Linked DNA regions of Homo sapiens: region 1 is linked to region 2. Evidence: promoter capture Hi-C in 16 types of primary human blood cells and fetal thymus (Javierre and others, 2016). All regions are on one chromosome and are shown on one strand. The core of a region is centred on a gene start or on the middle of the fragment in contact, and the rest is flanking DNA. Distances in the headings are between cores, read along the strand shown.

Region 1 (6,637 bases), core at 4,066-6,565, 360 kb after region 2:
TCACCCAGGAAACAGTCCAGCCTTGTGCTGACTGAAGCCGTGGGGGAAGCTCTTCTGTGCTGGTGGCGGACGCCCACTGCAGACGGGCTGTGGCGGCTCCTCACTGCAGTGCTGCGGGGCGCGGAGAAGCGGTGGGGAGCGGAACGTGCCGCAGACGAGCTGGGCCCTTGTCCGTCTTCCACTCTTCCTGTTTCACCTTGCAGAGGAAAAGTGACAGTTCTTTTCTGATGGGCTTTTCCCCGCACAGTCAAGGTCCTCGGCTGGTTACCTGTGGAGATTGTCAGCACTTGACTGAAGCGTAGCTGACGCCTCTGACCCAGTAATGGCATCAGTAGGATAAGACAAGTGGCCTGGAAAGGAGAGGAATGCCTACACGATGCGACCTCGGGCATGGCCTTAGCAGGGATTGATCAGAGCTGCAGCCTCCCTGGGCTATGGTGGAGGGCTTGCCTAAGGCCAGTCTCGGCTTTCGTGAGGACCAGAGCCTGCACTACCCTAGCTTGGACATTTGTTTGAATGGTGGCAGAACATTTCTAGGGTTTACTGCAGCCACCGTTCATCAGTAAGAAAGACCAGGATTTATTACTAACATAATTAGCGATATTTTTTCATCTATTCACTTTTCTACCTTTTTTGTGGTTAAAAGATATGGTCTGGTTCCTTAAAGTGGAAAATTCTTAACCATTTCTGGAGTTACTTAACGCCTAGAAAACTGCTGCATGTTTATTGGTTTATATGCTGGAAGATGGCCCATTGCAGAATTAAAATGGAAATGTAGACAGAAAGGAGAGGACATGAGTGGATGAGGGCATTGATCGCGGCCAGCCTGGTTTGGATTGCCCTACATCTCTCTTGTGCTGGCATCTCTGCAGCGACATCTCTTTCCAGTGTATAGAGTCTTATATAGGACCTGTTAGACTCTGCTGAGGTTTGGTCGTGTTTTTTCGTTTTATTTTGTTTTTTCTTTGAAATAGAGTCTCATTCTGTTGCCCAGGCTGGAGTGCAGTGGCACGATCTCAACTCACTGCAGCCACTATCTCCTGGGTTCAAGCAATTCTGCCTCAGCGTCCCGAGTAGCCAGTGTTACATGCATGCACCACCACGTCCGGCTAATTTTTGTATTTTTAGAAGAGACAGGGTTTCACCATGTTGGCCAGGCTGGTCTTGAACTCCTGTCCTCCAGTGATCCACCCGCTTCAGCCTCCCAAAGTGCTGGGATTACAAATGTGAGCCACTGTGCCCTGCCATGCTGTCTGAGTTATTTTCAAGAGAGCATCTATTTGGGAAGTATCTTTGGGGGCTTTACTACAAGGTGAACTTTGGCAAGACCAGAAATGTCCCAAAAGTCAGCAATTCCTCTACTACGTAAAGCACTCGAATTAGCCGGACACGAGAGCAAGGTGCTTCCTGCTGAGACTCACACTTTCCAGTGAACGTAGATCAGGTAGAGGACTGTAGGACATCAGTACAACTGGGCATAGAACAAGTGGAAACAGAGTAGAGCTTTCTTTGATTTTCTAATAAAGTTCTTTTGGTCCAGGACCATTGGACATCGCTAGCATCACCAGAGAAATGACTAATTCCAGGTCAGGGTCAGGGAATATACAAAATAAGCGTAGAATATCTCGTAATGCCAGAAAATGAGGAAGCCCTTACAGGCTGCTAGGGTGGTGTCAGAGGACTTGGGGAACAAGGTGAAGAGCAGCCATGGGGCCAGAGATGGGACCATTTGATTATCAAAAAGTGAAATAATTGCAGTGGATTTAAATTCACCAACTGTTCAGAATTCCCGGCTTCCTATTGATACTAAAAGTAATGTAATTTACGACCTTGGGAGAATGCTGGAGGACCGGCTCGTCACTGCGAAAGCGGGCAGATGACAGAAGGGGGCATTTAGCCAGCATTTCCTGCATGAAGTGTGTGTTAGGATAGCAGCTGTTGAAAGAAAGTTCCCTTTTATAAAAGTTTCTGGGATGTAAGTGAAGAAGGAATAAAGGAATTAGAATATCACTGTTTTATAAACTTGTACTGAAATCGTGGATCTGAGAAAATGTTCATCAGTGGCCGTTAACATCACAAAATGAGAGAGAACCAACACTTATGGGCCTGGGAATGGAAATCCACCATGGGCCCCCATTGACGCTGTTTCGTCAAAAAAATCAAGCTCAAATCAGACCAAGCCACATATTAATTAACACCACAGAGCTGCGCTCAGAACAATGGCTTACATAGGAAACAACATGACGAGAATAGAGGGAGGTCCTGAGGATTAAAGAGAGACAAGAATGTAGCCCTATAAGAGTCCTAATGGTGTTTTATTCTGTAATGGGAAAAAAGTCCTATAATTCATATGGAATTTCATGGTACCCCAAGTATCCAAAAATAATAATAATTGAAAAAGATGTTGGAGCTCTTACTTCCTGCTCTCAAATCTTACTGCAAAGCAACGGTAATCCAAACAGCATGGCACTGGCATGAAGACAGACACACTGACCAGTGGAGTCAAGTTGAGAACTGAGAAATAAAGCCTTCCAAAGGGCTTTTTTTTTTTTCACAAGGGTGCCAAGATCATCCAGTGGGGAAAGAACAGTCTCTTTAGCAAATGGCATTGGTACAATTGCATATGCACATGCAGAAGGATAAAAGCTTACTCTTTCTTACACCATACACAAGAATGAACTCAAAATGGATCGAAGACCTAAAGTTAAGGGCAAAAACTATAAAATTCTTAGAAGAAAATATAGGGACAAATCTTCATGACCCTGGATTTGGCAATGGAGGTTTAGATATGACACCAAAAACAGAGGCAACAAAATTAAAAATAAATTGGGCCGTGCATGGTGTCTCACACTTGTAATCCCAGTACTTTGGAAGGCCAAGGTGGGAGAATCACTTGAGCCCAGGAGTTCCAGACCAGCCTGGACAACATAGAGAGACCTCAACTCTAAAAAAACTTTTTTTTAACTAGCTGGGGGCTGGGTACAGTGGCTCATGCCTGTAATCCCAGCACCTTGGGAGGCCGAGGCAGGCGGATCACCTGAGGCCGGGAGTTCGAGACCAGCCTGACCAACATGGAGAAACCCCGTCTCTACTAAAAGTATAAAATTAGCCGGGCCTGGTGGCACATGCTTGTAATCTCAGCTACTCGGGAGGCTGAGGCAGGAGAATCGCTTGAACCCAGGAGGTGGAGGTTGCAGTGAGCTGAGATCGTGCTATTGCACTCCAGCCTGGGCAACAAGAGCGAAACTCCGTCCCAAAAAAAAAAAAAAAAATCAGTTGCGTATGGTTGCGTGCACCTGTGGTCCTAGTTACCTGGGAGGCTGAGGTGGGAAGATTGCTTGAGCCCAGTTGTTCAAGGCTGCAGAGAGCAGTGATTTTGCCATTTGCACTCCAGCCTGGGTGACAGAATGAGATCCTGTCTCAAAAAAATTATAAAAAGCCTAGGCATAGTGGCTCATGCCTATAACCCCAGCACTTTGGGAGGCTGAAGCAGGCAGATTGCTTGAGCCTAGGATTTTGAGACCAGCCTGGGCAGCATGACAAAACCCCTTCTCCACAAAAATACAAAAAATTACCCGGGCATGGTGGTGCACACCTGTGGTCCCAGCTGTTCAGGAGGCTGAGTTGGGAGGATCACTTGAGCCCAGGAGGCAGAGGTTGCAGTGAGCTAAGATCATGCAACTGCACTCCAGCATGGGCAACAAGCAAGACTGTCTGAAAAAATAAGTAAATAAATAGGTCTTCATTAAAGTTATAAACTTCTGTGCATCAAAGGACACTATAAAGAATGAAAACAGGCCAGGCACAGTGGCTAACACCTGTAATCCCATCACTTTGGGAGGCCGAGGTGGGCAGATCACCTGAGGTCAAGAGTTCGAGACCAGCCTAGCCAACATGGTGAAACCCCATGTCTACTAAAAATACGAAAACTAGCCGGGCATGATGGTGGATGCCTGTAATCCCAGGTACTCGGAAGACTGAGGCAGAAGAATCAACTGAACCTGGGAGGCTGAGGTTGCAATGAGTTGAGACTGCGCCATTGCACTCCAACCTGAGTGACAGAATGAGACTCTGTCTCAAAAAAACAAAAAACAAACAAAAAAGCCTGGGCACAGTGGCTCACACCTGTAATCCCAGCAATTTGGGAGGCTGAGGCAGGCGGATCACGAGGTCAGATCAAGACCATCCTGGCTAACATGGTGAAACCCCGTCTCTACTAAAAATACAAAAAAAGTAGCTGGGCGCCTGTACTCCCAGCTACTCTGGAGGCTGAGGCAAGAGAATTGCTTGAACCCAGAAGGCAAAGGGCGCAGTGAGCCGAGATTGCGCCACTGCACTCCAGCCTGGGCAACAGAGTGAGACTCCGTGTCAAAAAAAAAAAAAAGTGAAAAGATAACTCGCAGAATGGGAGGAAATATTTGCAAATCATTTCTGATAAGGAGTTACTATCCAGAATACATAAAGAATGCCTACAACTCAACAACGAAATAACAAACCCAATTCAAAAATGGTAGTGGACTTGAATATACATTTCTCCAAAGAAGAGATACAAGCAGCCAAAAACCACCCGAAAAGATGGTCAGTGTTATTAATAACTGGGGACATGCACATCAGAAACCCGTGAGATGCCAGTGCATGCCTGTTCGGATGGTGTGATGTAAAAATGGAAAATACGAGTTGGTGAGGATGCAGAGAAACTGGAGCCCTCGTGCATTGCTAGTGGGATTGGAAGATGGTGCAGTGGCTGTGGATACTGCCAGTTCCTCAGAGTTAAACAGGATTACCATATGACCGAATAATTCCACTCTTAAGTACGTACTCACAAGATTTGAAAACAAGGAGTCAAACACTAGATCCTTGCACCAGGATTATTCACAGTAGCCCAAGGGCGGGAATGACTCATTTGTCCATCAACAGATGAATGGGTAAACAACATGTGGTCTGTCCATACAATGGAATATTACTCAGCCATAGAAAGGAATGGAGCATTGACACACGCTACAGCATGGATGAAATTATTATGGATGAAATATTACAGCATGGATGAAATATTATGCCAGTATTTAAAAATTTGACTTTGAGGCTGGGCACAGTGGCTCACGCCTATAATCCCAGCACTTTGGGAGGCTGAGGCACGCAGATCACTTGAGTCCAGGAGTTTGAGATGAGCTGGGCAACGTGGCAAAACCCTGTCTCTACAAAAAATAGAAAAATTAGCCAGGTGTGGTGGCTCACGCCTGTAGTCCCCACTACTCGGGAGGCTGAGATGTGAGGATCGCTTCAGCCCAGGAGGCAGAGGCTGCAGTGAGCCAAGATCATGCCACCGCACTCTAGCCTGAATGACTGAACAAGACTCTTGTCTCCAAAAAAAAAAAAAAAATTGACTTTGATATTTAAGGAATCATTAATATTCGCAGTTTTGAGGGTGCTACTGTTATTTTTTAAAGGATGTTTTAAGAGCTACATCTTGAAATATGTATGGATAAATGAAATATCAGGTTTGTTTCAGAATAGTCTGTAGAGGATTGGGGGGGTCCTGAGGTCAGATATACAAGCATTTTTGTAAATTAAAAGGTTATATGGTCCTGATTTTCATTGTCCATTTGAATGAGGGTAAAATTTTCTGAGTGAGTCCTGATTTGGTGGTTTGCCTTGTTGCAGGATCATGTTTTCTTATGTGAAGGAGAAGAACCAAAATCGGATCTTAAAGGTGAGCTTTTGTTTTCTTTCCCTTCTCCTGAGTGGCCTCATTATTTCTGGAAGAGTTGCTAGTCTCTCCTCTGGGAATGAAAAGGAGTCTTTCTTTGCACCTTCTGGGCCACCTGATTAAAACGAGCTCAGGTGTATCCACTGCAAGAGGATTCAGCATTTGAAGAAGGCTAGGGTGAAACCCTGGGACTTGGTTGTCTTGCTCATCAGCCTAGGCCCAGGGCCATGGGGTCGTCTCCTAGAAGCTCATCTGTGTAGTGATGGGCAGGGATCCCAAACCTTCAGTGAACTCATGACCAAGCATAGAGCTGGCAGAACTAATCGAGAAGAGAGGGGCACAAGAGAGGGATGGAGGATGGGGAGGCGGGTGTCTCCATGGTGAGTCACCCCGGGGGAGTGAGCCACTGCTCAGGTTGAGCGGCAGACTTCGACTCTCCCCACGGCTCTTTAGCCTGACCATGGGCATCGGTTTCTGCCTTTGGGTCTCCATTTCCCTTAACTAATGACCAAGATTTGTGGGATTTCATTCACCTTTGAAAAGCCCAGGGTAACAGCAACAGAGCCTGCCTTTGCCTTGCTAAGCCCTCACCTAGGATGCATTCCCTCGCCGCCTCATGGTCACTCTCAGGGGCTTGCTTTCTATACTTGAGATGGAAGAAATGGGAGTGGTGTCTAACAAGCAATATAAAGAAACAATTCACTTAGGAAGAAATCAAGGAGTATTTACAGTAGCAAGCCCCAACTTTATGCCCATTTCAAAACTGCATCTGCTAATTACAGTGAGTTGTTTTGGTACCAGATGAAAAGCCTGTCTATATTGTCTTCTCTTTCCCAGTTACAGCATGAATTTCTTGCAGGTTGCTCTATGACACACTTTTTATTTCCACAGCCTGCCTGTCAGGGTCATGGGTTGCCTCTAATGGGATGT
Region 2 (6,316 bases), core at 3,598-6,097:
ACTGTCGCCCGGGCTGGTGTGTGGTGGGGCGATCTCGGCTCGCTGCGGCCTCCACCTCCCGGGTTCAAGCGATTCTTCTGCCTCAGCCTCCCGAGTGCCTGGGACTACAGGCACACGCCACCACACCTGGCTAATTTTTGTATTTTTAGTGGAGACGAGGTTTCACTATGTTGGCCAGGCTGGTCTCGAACTCCTGACCTCGTGATTCGCCCACCTCGGCCTCCTAAAGTGCTGGGATTACAGGTGTGAGCCACCACGCCCGGCCTAAAAAATTCTTTTGGCTTTTAAGGATACCAGAAAAACACCCAAGGAGCCGGAGATGGCAATTCACCAAAATTCACCAAATTCACCAAAATTCACCAAATTCGCCAAATTCACCAAATTCACCAAAATTCACCAAATCTGAATCACTCTAACGAGCTACAGCATAAAATCACTTGAAAAGGTGTGTGCTGACTTGATCAGAGGCACAAAGGAAAAGAATCTCAAAGTGAAAGGACCGGTTTGAATCCTACCAACACTTTGAGAATCACTACAAGAAAAACTCCAGATGAGGCCAGGTTACAGCTCACGCCGGTAATCCCAGCACTTTGGGAGGCCGAGGCGGGCAGATCACGAGGTCAGGAGATTGAGACCATCCTGGCTAACAGTGAAACCCCATCTCGACTAAAAATACAAACAAATTAGCTGGGCATGGTGGCAGGTGCCTGTAGTCCCAGCTACTTGGGAGGCTGAAGCAGGAGAATGGCGTGAACCTGGGAGGCAGAGCTTGCAGTGAGCCAATACCGCGCCACTGCAGTCCAGTCTGGGCGACGGAGCAAGACTCCATCTCAAAAAAAAACTTATAAAAAAAAAAACTCCAGATGAGCATCCATAAGCAACTCATTGACTTGCACAGTCCTTCTGAGATTGTTAAGCAGATTACTTCCATCAGTATTGAGCCAGGAGTTGAAGTGGAAGTCACCATTGCAGATGCTTAAGTCAACTATTTTAATAAATTGATTACCAGTTGAAAAAAAAAAACAAAAAAATACAAAAATCAGCTGGGCATGGTGGCGGGCGCCTGTAGTCCCAGCTACTCGGGAGGCTGAGGCAGGAGAATCACTTGAACCCAGGAGGCAGAGGTTACAGCCGAAATCACACCACTGCTCTCCAGCCTGGGCAACAGGGCAAGACTCCATCTCAAAAAAAAAAAAGAAAAGGAGGGACTCTGAAGCCCCCAGAGCTGGGAGGAGTCGCCTCCCAACCCCAGCTCTGCACAGAAGGATGCACACTGAGGGCCTGGCCTCTCCCTGCTGGGCCCCTAACCACAGTGAGCACAGAAGCCCATCTCGCTGGGAAGGGGCCTCTGACACCCCCACCCTCAGGCTGGTGGGAGGCGGGGCCAGGGGACAGGGTGCCATCCTCCCTGCCATCCAAGCCTCACCGCAGCAGGGGCTGTCCTGCCTGCAGGGCTCTGGCACACCAATGGCCTTTGTTTGGGGGCTTGGTAGGACCCTGTCTTGGGCCCACTTCTTTGTCCCTGCCCTGCCCTGGACCCCTCACAGATGCTGCTACTAGCACGGAGGCCTGAGAGAACTCCAGCGTGACACTGGGTGGTCACCTCCAGCCGGCCCCACCTGTGCACGCGTGGCAGCAGGACTCCCGGAGCTTCTGGTGTGGGATCTGGAGACCAGCATCTCAGGCATGAGGCCAGACTTGGGCTGAGGCCCTCCCACCCAGAGCCCCTCTCTTGATGGGGCAAGGAACAGGTTCTGGCAGTCTTCAGGGTCCTCCAGCTCCGGGGCAGGCAGGGTCCCTGGCCAGAGTCCCTGGGCTCTGACCCCACGAGCTCTCCAAGGACCCTGCCCTTCCTTGCTTGGGTCCTCAGAGGGAAGTTGGGGGCAGATTCTGGGAGGCTGTGCCTGCAATTTCTAGGGCTGCCACCAGAGGGTGGTAGCACTGGGCCCTGCGCTGTGCTCATGAGCGTGGAACAGGAGGGGCTGTCTAACTCTGCCATGGCCTCACCTGTGTGCTTCAGCGGCTTTGGCGCCTGCGTATCCAGAGCCTGGTGTTTTTACCTGCCCCCCCATCTCCGCCCCCCGCCACCGGCCCGGCCCTAAGGAGGAAAAGCTACTCTCCCTGCCTGCCAGACCCTTTCCAGCACAAAGTCCTGAGAATGTGAAAAGAGCCAGGCTTGAAAAATGGCTTTTCTCAGCTTTGCACAAGCAGCCCTGGTGCCCCAGCAGCCTCCTCAAGCTCTGACCCCGTCTGGGCAGGGGGTCTCGTGTCCCGACACATCGGTGGGAGGTGTTCCTGCACCTGCGCCATCCCCTCACTGTCCCCGGAGCACGGCAGCTGTCTGCACTCCGGTCCGAAGGCAGAGACGCCAGGGTAGCCCCTTCAGAGTGAGGCCTGGGGCTCAGGGTGGGGAGGGTGGGCGGCCCACTCTCCTGCCCTCTCTCTTAGTGGGAGGGGACTCACGCGAGGATGGGCTTCCAGCCCCAAGCTATGGAAAGGTAAATTGGGTCACTGGAGGGGCCGGAGTTCTGGCTGGGTGGCTGCAGTTCCCATCCCCACCAACTGGGACTGAGGCTGACCTGCTGTGAGTTGAGACTGGCTCACTGAGGTCCCCCAGCTGCACCCAAGGTGGGTGCTGCTGTTGTCCCCATTTTACAGAAGAGGGAAACTGAGGCCCGGGCAGTGGAGGGTCGCCCTGGGGCAGGGGTGAGCAGGGTGCTGGGACTTTGATCCAGGTCAGCCTGTCTTCAGCCTCAGAACAAGTTGGAGAATGAAGGCCTTGGTCACTGAGTGGGGTGTCGCTCGGATCGTTCATTCCTCGACTCCTCACCAAATGTTTGTGGAGGGGACAGTCCTAGTGACCGTCCTCTCCTGGGGAAACGGAGGCCCAGGGCTGGTTTGGGACTCAACCTATCACTATGTGGCCCTGGAAAAGCCCTTTCCCGTCTCCGGACTCCAGTCTCCCTACCTAGAAAAGAGTGGGGAGAGGTCTCCAAGGGTGCTCCCGCACCCAACGGACTGCAGTGTTGGTTTCAGGGTTGGTGCTCTCGTAGGGGCCGGAGCAGCGGCTGCCCCTCCCAACTTCCTGTTTACCGTAGCTGCAGAGCCTGTCCCTTCACTTAAAGCCAGTGTGATCACCATGGCAACCGGCCTGTGTTTGTTCCAACAGGTGGGCAGAACCTGGTGCAAGACCGCAGAGGCAGGGGCGTCACTCCCAGACCCGGTCTCCAGACCCACCAGCCCCTCAGGAGAACACTGCTACAGAGTGGGGCTGAGGGCCCAGGCCCCCTCCCCTGCTTCCCCCACCGCGTCCCTGTCCCAGCCAGTCCCTGCATTTCCTGCAAGCTCCCTGCCCTCCCCCACCGGCCTGGCTGTGCTGGGTCAGGATCCGGCAGAGCCTGGGCCGAGCGTCCCGAAGGAGAGCCCACCCAGGGGTCCTGCCCCCGATCCTGCACAGACAGGTGTGGGGCGGGCATGGATTTGAGTGAGTTGGGATCCAGAAGCCAAGACAGTTGTTGGCAGACGGGCCCCCTCCCTTTGAAGAGCTGTGTTCTGGAAGCCTGTCTGGCCTTGGGCTGCCCAGGTGCCCTTCGGGTGAAAACTCCAAAGTCTGACCACCCCCCACCCCTTGTCCCCAAAGGGCTGCGAGTGTCCAGCTGTATTCGACCAAGGGCAGGTGCGACCGGGGGGCCGCTGCGCCCTCGGCAAGTCTGAGAGCCTCAGGCCCCCGACAGGACCATGCTTAGCACGGACTTCTCAAAGTGTGGTCCCTGGACTGGCGGCAGCAGACTGGAGCTGGGAAGTGCAGGCGCTGGCTGGCGTGGGGACCACACCTGTGATCTCAGCGCCTTAGGAGGCCGGGGAAGGGGGATCCCTTGAGCCTGGGAGTTTGAGACCAGCCTGGGCAACATAGGGAGACCCCCATCTCCACAAAAGAAACCAAAAAACATTAGCCGGCGGGTGGTCCCAGCTACTGGGGAGGCTGAAGCGGGAGGACCACTTGAGCCGGAGAGTTCGAGGTTGCAGCGAGTGGAGATGGTGCCACTGCGCTCCAACCTGGTTGAGAGCTATTTTTGAGAGCTTTTTCGAGACTCTGTCTGAAAAAAAAAGGGAAAAAACGCAGATCGCGCCCCCACCCAGACTTCGGGACCAGCGGGTTGGGGACAGGACCCATCAATGCCTTAACAAACCCTGCAGGAGACCGCGGGCCCGCTGGGGTTCCAGGACAGCGCAGCGGAGGAAGAGCGGGGAGCCACCCGGGAGGGGCTGGCGGGGTCCAGTGCAGACCCCAGGGGCTCCGGGGGCTCTGGCCGGCTGTGACCCCACAAGCGCCAACTGGGCCCTCACCAGAGCCCCAGGGACGATCGCCCCACAGACCGTCCGCGTGGGCGTGGGGCGTCCCGAGTGGATCCCTGCAGGACGCATCCCCGCCCCGAGAAGAGAGCGGCGGGGCCCGCGAGGTGTCCCTGAGTCAGGCCCTTCCAGAAAGGTCTGCACCGCTGCTGGTCTTCGTGACCGTGGCTTCCCTGGGGTCCGCGGAGGAGACCCCGCCGACCACCCCCTTCTAGACCCCACGCGCCACGGGGAGGGCGCGCGCGGCCAGGCGGGGTCCCGAGGCAGCCAAGCCCGCTCCCCGTCCCGCAGCCACCTGTGGGTTGACTCACAGCCCCGCATCCCGGGGGAGGGGGCTCCGGCCCGGCTCAAGGCACGGAGACCCCGGCCGGGTCCCCTAAGGCGCCGTGGACGCGGGGGGCGGGGCGAGCGCGGTCAGGCCCCGCCCCGGTCAGGCCCGGCCCCGCCCCCAGTCAGACCCCGCCCCCGCAGCGGCGTCCGCCCAGCAGTTGCTCAGTCGTCGGCGCGCGCGGCTGGGAGCGGTAGCTGTGCCTCGGCGTCCCCGAGCTGGTGCCGAGCGCAGCGCCCCAGGAGCCCCCCCATCCCCGCGCCGGCCCACGGTAAGTGCCGCGGGCTGCGGCCAGTGCTGTTGGGCCGCCGTCTGGGCTCGGCCCCGCGCCCCAACCCGGACGGACCGACGGCCGCCGCCCCCTTGGTCCGGGTCCCCCAGGAGGCACGGGGGTGGCCTCCGAGGCGGGGGGCGGTGGGAAGGTCTCGACGTCCCCTCGGCCCTGGGGAAACTGAGGCCGCGCATGCTTGGAGGGGCGGGGTCTCGGGGGCATTTCCCCTCCGAACGCGCAGGAGAGGGTGCGGCGGTGGGGTCCGCACTGCGGAGCGGACGGGGAGGGTATCCGGGCGCTGGCGACGGCCTCCCCCGCACTTGAGCCGCCAAGCGAGGCTTCGACCCCCGCGCCTCCCTCCCCGGGGGAGCAGACGGGCCCGGGGCCTCCCAGCACCCCTCCCGGGCGGGCTGCACCCCCCAGCGTCCTCGTCCCTTCCCTCCTCCCGCAGGTCCTCGTAAGGCCCTTTAGTCCCCCCGAAATCCCTGCGAGTGCAAAGCGGCCCCTCCTTCAGCCCCACTCGGCAAAGGGCTGTGGGCTCTTGCCTGGGCCGGGGTCTCCGGGGGAGGAGTTTAAAGTGACACACTAGACCCGCCCCCAGACTCACCCCGGACCGCCCGCCCCCTCCGAGGGGAGAGACCCCCATAGAACTGGGGGTGTGGCTCCTGCGGGCGCCCGGGGCCCCGGGAAAGGGGGTGCCGCGAGGCGGGGCAGGGAGGGGGTCGGTGAGCAGAGGGAGGAGGGAGCGCTGCGCAGACACGGGCGAGGGGAGGAAGAAGGCGCCTCGGGCTCCGGTCTCCTGCGCTCCTGCTGGGCGCCAGCGGCTGGACCTTGGCAGCCGTCTGAGGCTTCGGGGAGCCCAAGGCCACCGGCAGCGCTTGTTAGAATGCAGATTCCCGGGGTTCGACTGGAATGAGACCCCGGGGAGCAGCGTTTGCAGCGGGCCCGCCAGGTGACCTGCACCTGGGCACCGCCATCGGCTTCGCAGGGGCCATCTGGAGGAGTCGGTGAGACCAGGGAGAGATTCCTGCGGGAAACCCCCAGGGCCTGGTGAAGGGGAGTCGGGGGGCTGAGGGAGGAAGAGCAGGGAAGCTGGAGAGAAGACCAAGAGGGCAGCGTGGAGAGCCAGCCTGTGGGGCAGATGTCCTGCCACCTCCCGCCCCAGGCACACACCCAGGGCACCATCAGCTAACCCCCTGCCCCAAATGTGGTAAGAAGGGCGCCCCCAACACGTTGAAGGCGTTTGTTCCTAGACAGCCTGCACTGGGGAGGAAGGCTGACCCAGCCTCTGCTCCGCTGCCCCCAGACTCAGCTGCCTCACTGCCCCCAACCCTGAGCCCCCAAATGGCCTGGCAGGAGACAGC

The links. The method cuts DNA at HindIII sites, captures the fragments that hold promoters and counts their contacts. A CHiCAGO score of 5 or more calls a contact.
Region 1: a contact is called between a fragment that was not itself captured here and the fragment with the promoter of BAIAP3 in region 2, in 2 of 17 cell types (endothelial precursors and naive B cells). The highest score is 5.4, in endothelial precursors.

Annotation. Positions count from the first base shown.
Region 1 is chr16:1,692,151-1,698,787 of GRCh38, forward strand. JPT2 (Jupiter microtubule associated homolog 2) reads left to right here. Exons shown (of 5, transcript NM_144570.3): 4 at 5,662-5,710. Among named protein-coding and RNA genes, the nearest start is that of MAPK8IP3, 11 kb to the right of the region's middle. RefSeq lists an enhancer at 1-232. The HindIII fragment of the contact is 5,342 bases long and covers 2,645-6,637 here.
Region 2 is chr16:1,328,798-1,335,113 of GRCh38, forward strand. It overlaps BAIAP3 (BAI1 associated protein 3), which reads left to right and starts at 4,848. Exons shown (of 34, transcript NM_001199097.2): 1 at 4,848-4,952. It also overlaps the pseudogene RPS20P2. RefSeq lists an enhancer at 2,976-3,025 and silencers at 3,802-4,002, 4,738-4,897. The HindIII fragment of the contact is 32,270 bases long and covers 1-6,316 here.